2 separate regions of the Homo sapiens genome follow, and region 2 is linked to region 1. The links are contacts of gene promoters, found by promoter capture Hi-C in human tissues and cell types (Jung and others, 2019). All regions are on one chromosome and are shown on one strand. Each heading gives the region's core, a stretch centred on a gene start or on the middle of the fragment in contact. The rest is flanking DNA. Distances are from core to core; before and after follow the strand shown. Region 1 holds the start of IGSF21 (immunoglobin superfamily member 21). Region 2 overlaps PAX7 (paired box 7).

Evidence for each region. Contacts are between HindIII fragments. The study calls those that stand out against the background at their distance.
Region 2: a fragment that was not itself captured here is called in contact with the fragment with the promoter of IGSF21 in region 1 in 2 of the 25 tissues and cell types used here (liver and thymus).

What each region holds. Positions count from the first base shown.
Region 1 is chr1:18,104,893-18,110,285 of GRCh38, reverse strand. It overlaps IGSF21 (immunoglobin superfamily member 21), which reads right to left and starts at 2,488. Exons shown (of 10, transcript NM_032880.5): 1 at 2,088-2,488. The coding sequence starts at 2,157. The HindIII fragment of the contact is 17,740 bases long and covers 1-5,393 here.
Region 2 is chr1:18,659,812-18,665,204 of GRCh38, reverse strand. The region is part of intron 4 of PAX7 (paired box 7); the gene reads right to left. Among named protein-coding and RNA genes, the nearest start is that of PAX7, 32 kb to the right of the region's middle. The HindIII fragment of the contact is 3,689 bases long and covers 1,453-5,141 here.

The sequences.
Region 1 (5,393 bases), core at 1,239-3,738:
CTGCGGAGAAGAGAGGGCTCCCGGCTGCCTCGGATCTCCCTCTGCGCCCCAGACGCGGAAAGTTTCCCATTCGCGATCCGCGTCTGCGCTCTTCCTTCATCCTGAGCAGCGGAGCTCCGAGGCCGCGCTGGCTGCACCGGCCCAGATGCGCTCACCCTCAGGCACGCCAACCCCCGCCTCCCGCAGCCCGCAGAGGCGGGCAAAGGGATTTGAGGCGTCAGGATGCCGGGTCAGCTCTCTGCAGCCGGGCAGCCAGAAGAACCCTGCTCCCGGGTTCCAGGGAGAGCTCGCAGGGTGGGGTCCTGACGGAGCCAGGGTTTCCCAACAAGCCCTTCTCATCAGTCCTCTCCTTCACCCTGCCGCGTCTCTCTGTTCTGCGCATTCCCAGGGAAAGGGGTGCTTACCTTAGGTCCCCAGCCTCCAACCCCCGCCCCCTGCAATGTCCAGGTGAGGGCTCCAGTGCCTTTCAACAAACCCCAGTGCCCTCTCGGCGGCGCTGGAACGAGGACCTCCCCCATGTAACCTTTCCCTCTAGAGCCCTCCTCCCAAAGTTGAGGGGGGACATTTTGATCCACTTAGGAAAGTCTCTTGTTCCAAGGGTAGGGGAACAAAGTACAGGGTTTGCATTCCTTCTGGGTTACACCAACCCCTCCCCCCTCGCTGTCAGGACCACCTTCCGGGCTCAAATTCTGCAGCTTCTCCCATCAGCAGACCCAGCACTCCCCAAGGACTTCGGGGTAGAAGGAGTTGGGGTTATTTTTAAGGGGGCACCCCTTCCTGGCAGGCACTCTCAGAGCCTAGGTAGGCACCTCCTGCTGGGACAAGGCTATGGCATAGGACAGAGGTGATGCCCACCTCTATCATCCAGTGGGGCTCGGGGTCGAGACCTTATTGATCATAAAGACGACTTTTTGGCACCTCGCGTCCCGCTCCCCTCCGAGGCGGAGCCAGGCTCTGACTCCAGCCAGGCTGAGGTTGGCACCAGGCTCCGAGGAGGATCCCGGACGCGGAGCCTGTAGTCTCGGTGCCTGCGGCTCTTCGCTGGTCCCGCCTCCCTCCCTCCTGGCTTTTAGCCTCACGTTGGCTCTCTGCTCACTGCGCGAAAGGGTTCAGCTCCATTTAAGACCCACTACGCGGCGGCACTGGGTGGGAGGCCGGCCGCGGACCCTGGGGCTGCGGAGCCACCTCTCACTGGCTCCGGAGAACCCGCTCGGCTTCAACCTCCTTCTAGCTGTCTTAGCCTAACCCGGGAGCAAGTCCACACGGCGGGACACACACACACACACACACACACACACACTGAGCTGCTCACAACTCCCCAGCCCCGGAAGCGTCCATACCTCCCTGCACACGATAACCACACGCTCCATGGCACGCATACACACACTCCCAGCCCCATGAAGCCCACGACTCCCAGGCACCTGCACCCCCACCCATCCCACATAAGCAGACTCTTGTCCAGTGTCACAGTCCCATCTCCTGTGCACACAGAAATAGTAATCCGCTGTCGTACACCCCTAGAGACCTGCACACTCGGGACACACGTGAAACGCCAAACCTCACATACCCACCCCCTAACACCTCACACCCACAGTGACACAAGCTCACACACTTCACACCCTCACAGGGAAGGTGGCACATGTTCACACCCTCCCCCCAACATTCGCTCACACTCTCACACACACACCTTCTCCATGTAACTGACACAGACACTCTAACACCCATCCAGACCCTCGCTCACTCACACGCAGACCCCACACCATCACACACACACGCACACACACACTTGCATCTCTAAATACACTCCCGCACCTTCTGCCCACACAGCTCCTTCCCGGACACCCTCACCCAGACACACAACAAAGACACACAATTTACACACACACACACACCCTGGCACAAATCCATGAGCGCTCTCCAAGAGGCGTCCTCCCTCCCTCATCGAGCCAACCAGCTCCACAGACCCCGGGCAGGACCGGTGCTCGTAGCCCGAGCCTCTCGGAGCGACCCCGGCCAGCGCCCTCCCCCGGCACCCCGTCCCCGCGCACGTTCACCGCTCGGCTCCCGCCAGGCGCCCGCGCACTCACCGCGCGCCAGGTCCAGGATCGCGGCGAGCAGCAGGCAGACGCAGCGGCGGAGGCTCGGGGCGGTTCGCATGGTGCCCGGGAGCTGGCGGCGGTGGCGGGGCGGCGGGGGTGGAGGCGGTGGCGGCGGGTCCCCTCGCCATGGGCTCAGACGCGCTCCTGCCTCCGGCCACTGGCCGAGGCGGTGGCGGGCAGCGCGGAGAGCCGCGGGGGCGCCCCCATGCCGCCGCGGCCAGGCAGCCCGGGCGCCCGGCTCGACTCGGCTCCGGCTCTGCGAGGCGCAGCGACCCTCGCGCTCTGGGCGTCCTCGGGGCTCGCCGCGGTTCTCGGCTCCCTAGCTGCGCGCGGTGCCCACCGCGGCCCAGAGTCCGATCGGCTGCAGCGCCGGAGTTTGGAGCCGAATCGCGCTCTCTGCCTCGCGCTCGCCTCTCCCGGCGGCGCGAGCACCCCCCTCCTCTCGCCCTCCCTCCGTCCCTCCCCCTCTCCCCGCCCCCCCGCCCTCCTTGCCCTCCCCTCGCCGCGCTCTCCGCGTATTATACAGACTTTTCTTTAATCCTTTCTGGGCTGTTCGGCTCTCGTCCGCTAAGCCGATTTATTGCAGGGAGAAGGAGAGCTCACCCCCTCCTAACCTCCCCTCTCCCCTCACTCAGGTCCCCCCTCACTCAAAACTGGCTTGCTGCCTCCAGCTTCTTAACCCTTACCCAGGTGACCCAACACCCCGCCCTGGAAGCTATGCTCCATCGGATCCGCCTTTACCTAGCCCCTCCTATCCCCGGGATTACCATCGCCCTCCCCGCTACTCAGCCTGATGAAAGGAGGCAGCCTCCCTCCCGAGAGGGAAAGATGCCATCCTGGGAGCAGGGCAGGCAGGGTGTGGCTCTGGAGTTCTGACCTTGCCAACGATGAATGCCCTCATTGGGCAAGATTAAGGGGTTTCCATGTTCTGAAACTTCCCCAATTACGGCTGCTCCTTCCCCCAGGGACCCACGGAAATGGGGTGTGTTCTGTCTTTTTCCCATGTGCTAGGATCCAGCCAGGAAGGGTGAGGAACTGATTGTTTCCTCCTGGCAGAGACCAAGTTTCCACCTTTTTGCCAGACCTGACAGCTTTTCTTCCCAGGTCCGAGAAGAACAGGTTTGGGACTTGTATGTTACCATTACTCTCCCACCAACACACACGCGAGCACACACACACACACACACACACACACACACACACCATTGAGCCTCAGCCCTGGCGGTGGACTTTGAGGCCTCCTGCGAGGATGAAGGGGAGGGGTACTCTAGCCCTTGGAGTGGACTGGGGATGTGGTTAGATGAGGAAGTTCAGGAGATAGAATTTCACCATTGGTAGGGACCCAGAAGATTGGCAAAGCCCAGAAAAACCAGCACGACCAGGGGCAAAACCTGCTCAGAACTCAGGTGGGTCCCTTTACCCAGGCCTTCTATGGAGAATCTCCAGCTTCCCTAGCTCTGGCAGGTTGCTGAGTCAGGCTGTTGCATCGTTTACCTACATGGGCAATGGGTCTATAGCCAGTTCCATCTCCAGCAGCCCTCTGAGAGGAGTGTAGGGAGTGGGGTGGGCAATGGGTGGTTGCTGGGCTGCCTCTGGGTGAGCTTTGTGCAGAGATGTCCATGAAAGTGAACTGCTCCCTCCTCCTGCCCTCTGGAACCTCACCCCATCGCCTCCCAAGGCAGCTCTGCGGCTCAGCTTGCTCACCCACCCCAGAAGGAGCGATTTGCATTTATGAAGATCTGAAAGCATACGTTCACCTGACAGGCTTTAGAATGATCCTCTCAGTAAAATAATAATAATGATCATAATAAACCCTTATAAATAGGTGTTTGATTACAGTTTGTCCCTAAGTGGGATTTTTTTTTTTTTTTTTTTTTTTTTTTTTTGTGAATCAGACTAATTGGTTCCAGGTTGATTGGACTGCATATGGCTTGAACACTTGATGAACACTGGAGTCTTAGGTCCTTTCTTCTCCCTTTGGCTGCTGTTCTTTGCTCCCTCTCACTCGCATCCACCCAGGTCTCCCCTTCTCCAGGCTGCTGAGGGTCAGCTTGAGGTCACCTCTCCCCCTCACCTTCTTCTCAGGCTGCAGGGCACAGTCCCTTACTGCCTCCTCCCTGGCCCTCCCTCCCCACTCTGACCCAAGAAAAAGTCAACAAACCCAAAAGTCCATCCCAGGTTCTAAATCCTCTGTGGAAGGGGCTCCCTGGCTGGGGAACAGCATCAGGTTCATGCGGTTCCTTGTGCTGGTCTGAGTTGTGCAGGGAAATGCCAAGCATCGCTGTGTGGGCATTCCTACTCTCTGGCCCCAGCTGCAAATCGGCGTGCAGCTAGGCAGGTGGACAGCATCAGTTCCTCAGGTGAACCCTGAATTGGTGGGGCTTCCTGGCTGCGCTCCCTGCAGCCCAGCCCTTGGAGATGAGGGCCAGGGAGCAGGTGGGATTCCAGGGCCCCTTAGTGATGTTTCTTCCCAGCCATGGTTCACACCAGCTAGAAAAGAGAGCCAGCAGAAGGAGCTAGAGAATGGCATCTGAGGATATGCTAGTGAGGAGGAAAGCAGGCCTAACAGCCAAGGGAGGGTTGCTTCCTAGGACCAAGGATTGGGGCTGGTGTGTTGGAGATCTCCTTCAGCCCCAAGACTTCTGAATCACCTCAATTCTCTTTAACATCACCCTGTATTATAATTATTATTATGCCTAGCCAGTGCCTGACACATAGTGGATCCTCAATAAATACCAGTTGGATGAATGCGTGAATGAATGAATGAATGAATGAATGAATGAGGGTAGGTCATTCAGTCTTATCCACTCTGTTCCTCAGCTCCTTGCACAAGTCTGGCACTTGGTAGGCGTCCTGTGGCAGTGAACCTCCTTGGAGCGCCAGGATCACATATTCTGACTGGGCCCATCAGAGAGGAGGTGTCTGCTCAGGTGCGCAGTTTGGTTTTGCCCAAAGGGGCCTGGCTGTGATGTGCATGTCTATGGCCATATGGTAACCATAGTGGTTAATACGGCTGCCTTCACAGGCCCCTCCAGGGAAGCCCACTCCTCCAGCTCCTGTTTCATAAGATATAGCTTTAAAGCCTTTCCTTTGTCCCAGAGAAAGACATCTCTGGAGCACTGAGAAGCACAGTTAGCAGAGGGCACAGGGTGGGGTGCCTTAGCCAAAGGAAAAGGTCACGCGGGACAGCCCTGGGGCTTTTAATTTGCTTAACATCCCTTGGCTCCTGTCTCCTAATGGATCGGCAGGGCCTCCACTTTGCAGTCCTGGCACTCAGACCCATGAGTCACGGCA
Region 2 (5,393 bases), core at 2,048-4,547, 550 kb before region 1:
CCCTCTCACTAGGCCCTGATTTAAGAAATAATAATAAGCTGCTAACCTTTACTGAGCACTTACTGTGCCCAGGCTCGCTGCTAAGCTGTGTGCACACATCACATCATCTAACCCACTCAACCACCCTGTAATGGAGCTCTATATTGCACGTGAGCAGACTGAGGCACAGAGAGATGTCATCTTCCTAAGGACACACAGCAGAGTCAGGACTGGAGCTTGGGTCCAGCTGACTCAAGATTAGCCACCACACTACACTGCCAGGTTTAGAATCACTGGAACCAAAGGGTAATGTCTCCCACTAGGCCCTGTCAAGAAGCACGCTCCCTGGAAAGGGAACACATCATCCAGTCTCCCTTCAGGATTTGGGGTTTACCATCATATGCCCAGGAGGCCAGCATATGTCTAGGGAAATGAGCATTACAACAGGGAGCTCCTAGCCTCCCCTTCTCGGGGGCTCACCTTCCTGATCTGTAAAATGGGGGGATAGGACTAGATGGTCCCAAGCTGCCCCTGCCTCACCCCAGATCTGACATTCCATCACTTACTGTGGGACTCTGAGCAACGGATGTCATCCTCTGAGCCTCTCGATTTCCCCATGTGGAAAATAGGGATGACAAGGCTAGTTCATAGAGGGCTGTGAGGATCACAGCTTGGGACAAGCTTCATAAACTGTAAAGTGCTGACCAAATGAGAGTGCTGTGACAGCCTGGTAACTGGACTTTCGTGTGGCTGCCTCGCCCTCCTCCCTCCCCTTCCCCAGGCATGGTGTTCCCTCTTCCAGGTCACCAGCTCCCCATTTGTTACGCCTCCCGGCCTCCCCGAGGTTTGGAAGACTTTCAACAGTTGGGAAGGAAAAACTCAGATGTGGCCATAGGCTGACAGGGGCCAGGAGAGAGGTCACTACCGCCTCAGAGGCACGAGATCATCTTTCCAACAAAAGGGAATCTGTCCCAGCTCTGCCACTGATTAGCTGTGTGACCTTGGGCAAGTCACTTAACCTTCCTGGGGCCTCTGCCCATCCATCTGTGAAAGTGAGAGGGTCAGACTGGATGCTTCCAGAGCTGACATCTGAGGAGTGTCTGCTGGAGAAGCTCTTTCAGCTCCAGGTCCCAATCTTGGTACAACGATCTGGGAGAGCTGTGAGTTTCAAGATCCTGGATTGGAAAAGTGAATTGCAGCCCTGGAATCCCACTTTATTAAGGCCAGTGGGTGGGGTGGGGGCTTTCTAAGCCCCCATTTCACCTCTGTGCTTTCTCACTGGGAGGGAAAAGGGAAGACTGTGGCACTAAGAAGCCATCTGGCATGGGCTGGTAGCAGCTGGCCTGAACTTCAAGGCTATGTTAAAGTGATAACTGTTCCTGACCTGTGGGAAGATGTCAATACCACGTATCTTTCACCACAGGCTGTTATACTTCTTGTCTGGAGTCTGTCTTCTGAACTTAGGATACGGCCAGTTCCTCCACGTACCCCAAATTATCCTAGAGGATTGAGAGTCAGAAAACCCAAATTCAAATTCCAGCTCAGGCTGGCTGTGGTGGCTCACGCCTGTAAGCCCAGCACTTTGGGAGGCCGAGACGGGTGGATCACTTGAAGCCAGGAGTTTCAGACCAGCTGGCCAACATGGCGAAACCCCACCTCTATTGAAAATATAAAAATTAGCTGGGCATGGTGGCACATGGCTGTAATCCCAGCTACTCGAGAGGCTGAGGCACAAGAATCGTTTGAACATGGGAGGCAGAGGTTGCAATGAGCTGAGATCATGCCACTGCACTCCAGCCTGGGTAACAGAGCAAGACTCTGTCTCAAAAACAAAACAGAACAAAACAAAACAAACCCCACAAATTCCAGTTCATCTGCTTTCTAGCAGGAGACCTGAAGAAATCATCCAGCTTCTCTGGCCCTCAGTCTTATCATCTGTACAATGGGGACAGCAATGGCTCCTCAGTTAACAGGTGGAAGTGATGAGCCCAGGGCTCAGCTACCATCAGGTTGAAGGTGATAAAACAATGGGTAAAACCCATCACTGGCGAGGTGTCGAGAAGGAACCAGCCTCCGGAAAATGATGTCCTGGACACATTATTAACTGATTAAGTCCAGAGCAGTGTCTGTTGCACAATCCCACTTTGTCAAAATAAACATATGTATAGATGTGCCGTTTCTCTGTGGAGAAACATCTAGAAGATCAGACTCCCAAGTTATTCATTGTATTTAACTCTGGAGAGTAGGAAGCAGAGGCTGACAAGCTTTTTTACTTTCTATATTCTTTTAGTGTTTGAGGTTTTTTTTTTTTCTTCACAATAATATGTGATTCCTTCAATATAAAGAACTTACAGGCTGGGTGTGGTGGCTCATGCCTGTAATCCCAGGACTTTGGGAGTCCAAGGCAGGAGGATCACCTGAGGTCAGACATTTAGACCATCCTGGCCAACATGGTGAAACCCCATCTCTACTAAAAGTACAAAAAAATTTAACTGAGCATGATGGCGTGTCCCTGTAACCCCAGCTACTCGGGAGGCTGAGGCAGGAGAACTGGTTGAACTCAGGAGGCGGAGGCTGCAGCGAGCTTAGATTGTGCCACTGCACTTCAGCCTGGGTGACAGAGTGAGACTCTGTCTCAAAACAAAAACAAAACAAAACAAACAAACAAACAAAAAACTAGAACTAATACAATGTTTTTGAATTTGAGAAACCAGCTTTCTTTTCTCTAATTCCAAGTAGAAGTGTGAATCTACAGGCTCTCTTACAGGATGAGAGAATGAGTGAATGAATGAATGAATGAATGAATGAACTAAAGAAGGAACAAAGGAGCACTGCAAATTCCAGGACTGCAGAAAGGTCGCCTCATGGAACCACACCAATGAGCATTGCCCCGCGCATTCTCCAAGACTGCCGGGGCAGGGGTCATCTTTAGGCCCGTTTTGAAGGCAAGATCACCAAAGCTCAGAGAGCAGGAGTAGCTTGGCCAAGGCCGGGTCACATAACTTCAGCAGCACTCACCCCAGGCTTTGGGAAACCAAAGCTCCCTCTCCTCCCAGGCCTGCAGGAGGAGCTGCCTCCTCGCCCCCCTCAACCCCCCAGCACCCACCCTACCCCCAGCGAAGCACCAACTCCTGTTGCCCAACCCCAGAGCAGGTCTCTAGGACACTGGTGCAGGCAGAGACCAGGTTGTGCTCAGTCAGGGCCCCCAAAATAAACAAAGCCACTCTCTGAGCTCCAAGTGGCTGACTCCCACCTGCTCCCTGGAAATCGTCTTTGATTTCAGAACAGGCTGGAGTGTAAAACCAATAAAGCTTCCTGTGCCCATAAACAAACAGGCAGCCGCTTAACTTCCCCCTCCCGGCGCCCTCCGCCCACCCCCTGTCACTGGAAGGCGCGGGCAGAGGGCAGGGCTGTGCTCCATTGTCCCTGGGTAATTAATTGCCATAATAAGGAGCCACACTAAGCTTCAAAGGCCAGGCCCAGTTGGCCGAGGGAGCCCAGGCTCTTGTGTGCTGCAGCCAGAAAGCCAGCATGGGCTCCAGGCCCATACTCTGAGCACCTACTGTGTGCCAGGCACCACACGTGGCTTTGTCCGACACTGTGAGGTGGGTGTTGTTAGCCCTATTTTACAGATGAGAACACTGAGGCTCATGGAGGTCATTTCTTGTCTGCAGTTACAGGGCGGGGCAGTGGGCTGAGTTAGCGTGCAGGCTTCCAGATAGTCCCAGAGCAAGTGCTGGGAAAGGCCAGTTCGATCCTCTCAGCCTCTGCATGCCCATCAAGGAGCTGGAGGAGGATTAAAGTCTAATCCAAGAGACGTGGACACACCAAAGGCAAGTTTGGGGTGGGAGGAGAGATCAGAAAGTTTCTGCAAAGAGGCACAGGAAATGTGAGTTTGAAAAAATAAAGACGAATTCATTTCCACCTCATGGACCCCAAAGCGGGACTCTCCCACAGCCCCTATGCCCCCTACTCCTCATGGCAACCCTTACACTGAAGGGAGGGATATCTGTTTGCCTGTCTACCCCACCAAGCAAGGGGGCCTCTGAGGGCAGGGATGGACCCACGTTGTTCTGTTTCAGCCAAGCTCTGGGTATTTATTTCTCAACAGAGATTTACTGATCATCTAACAACCACGTGTCAACTGTCTAATCCTCCATGCTTTGGCCCCCTCCCTATTCTATGCCCCCTGCTCTAGCATGCGTGTGTGCTTTTTACTTTCCCCTCTAGCACTCTGAAGCCCTTACACTCACTATTTCACTTCAGCCTTACAAAACCCTAACGAGCAAAGTAGCTTTTGCTCCATTTTACAGCCAAGAAAACCGAGGGTCAAGGGGAGGAAATAGCTCCTTATGTGCCCATTTCTCCCCTAACTCATCCTCCAGGTCCCCCACCCCCGTGAGTCCTCTCTCCCCTCCCTTTAGCCGCTGGCTCACAGGCCAGGACTGGGCCCCACCTCTGAGCCCCCTTCTGTTTTTTCACTCAGGATTCCTGAGCCCAAGGAGGCAGGCTTGTTTATAGCCCTGCCAGTCCTGGTGCCTTGGTCCCAGCTCAGGTCAGCTCTCTGGGGCTAGTAGGGGCTTTTGAACGTGGTAAATACAGGTTGCAGGGGTCAGGGGTCACAGCCCTTCCTAGGGGGAAGTTAGACTTGAATCATCCATGAAATAGTAATGCTCATCTTGGGGCGTGGAAGGGAGGCAGATTTCTTAAATTATGATGACTCCACAACAACCCTCCCTCCACCTCCCAGGCCTCAATCATCCCCCACTTTGGTTTCCCTGGAAGGACTTGGCATCTGGATTTTCCGTTTTCCTCCCTCCTAATTTTGTCCTTAAGCCAGAAAAAATAAGGTGTCTAGGGGAAGAGAAGAGCAGAAAGGAAGAGAAGAATGTGGCGTGTGTCAGAGGCCTGCTGTGTCCTGGGCAGAGTTGGGTTGGAGTGGTGTCACCTGTCTTCCACAGGTAGGGGGATGACTTGGCCAAAACCTCCCAGCCAGCAAGTGGCAGAGCCAGGATTCGAACTTGAGTTGGTCTAAGTCAAAGAGCCAAGCTCCAAATGGGAGGCCCATTTGGCCCTATCCTAGGGGCCCCTCCCCTGACAGAGGCTCCAATTTGGGAGCGTTGATAAGGAGGACACCCCAGGCTCCAGCCACTGGGCTCCAATTCTACCCACAAACGTGGACGAATTCCGACCTCCTACATCCATGCTTCCCCTCAACCACCCCACGCAAGGGGCAGATGCCGAAGGGTAAGGTCCTCGAGCACATGGCCCGCTGGGCTTTTCCCAATTCTTTTGCAGTCACTCTTCCCTTCCAACCCATTCCTTAACAAAGGTGGGAGGAGGTTGAGGCCGTTCCTTGTGACAGGTACCTGAGCCCCACGGACCTACGGGATTGATCCTTACACGCCAGGGGG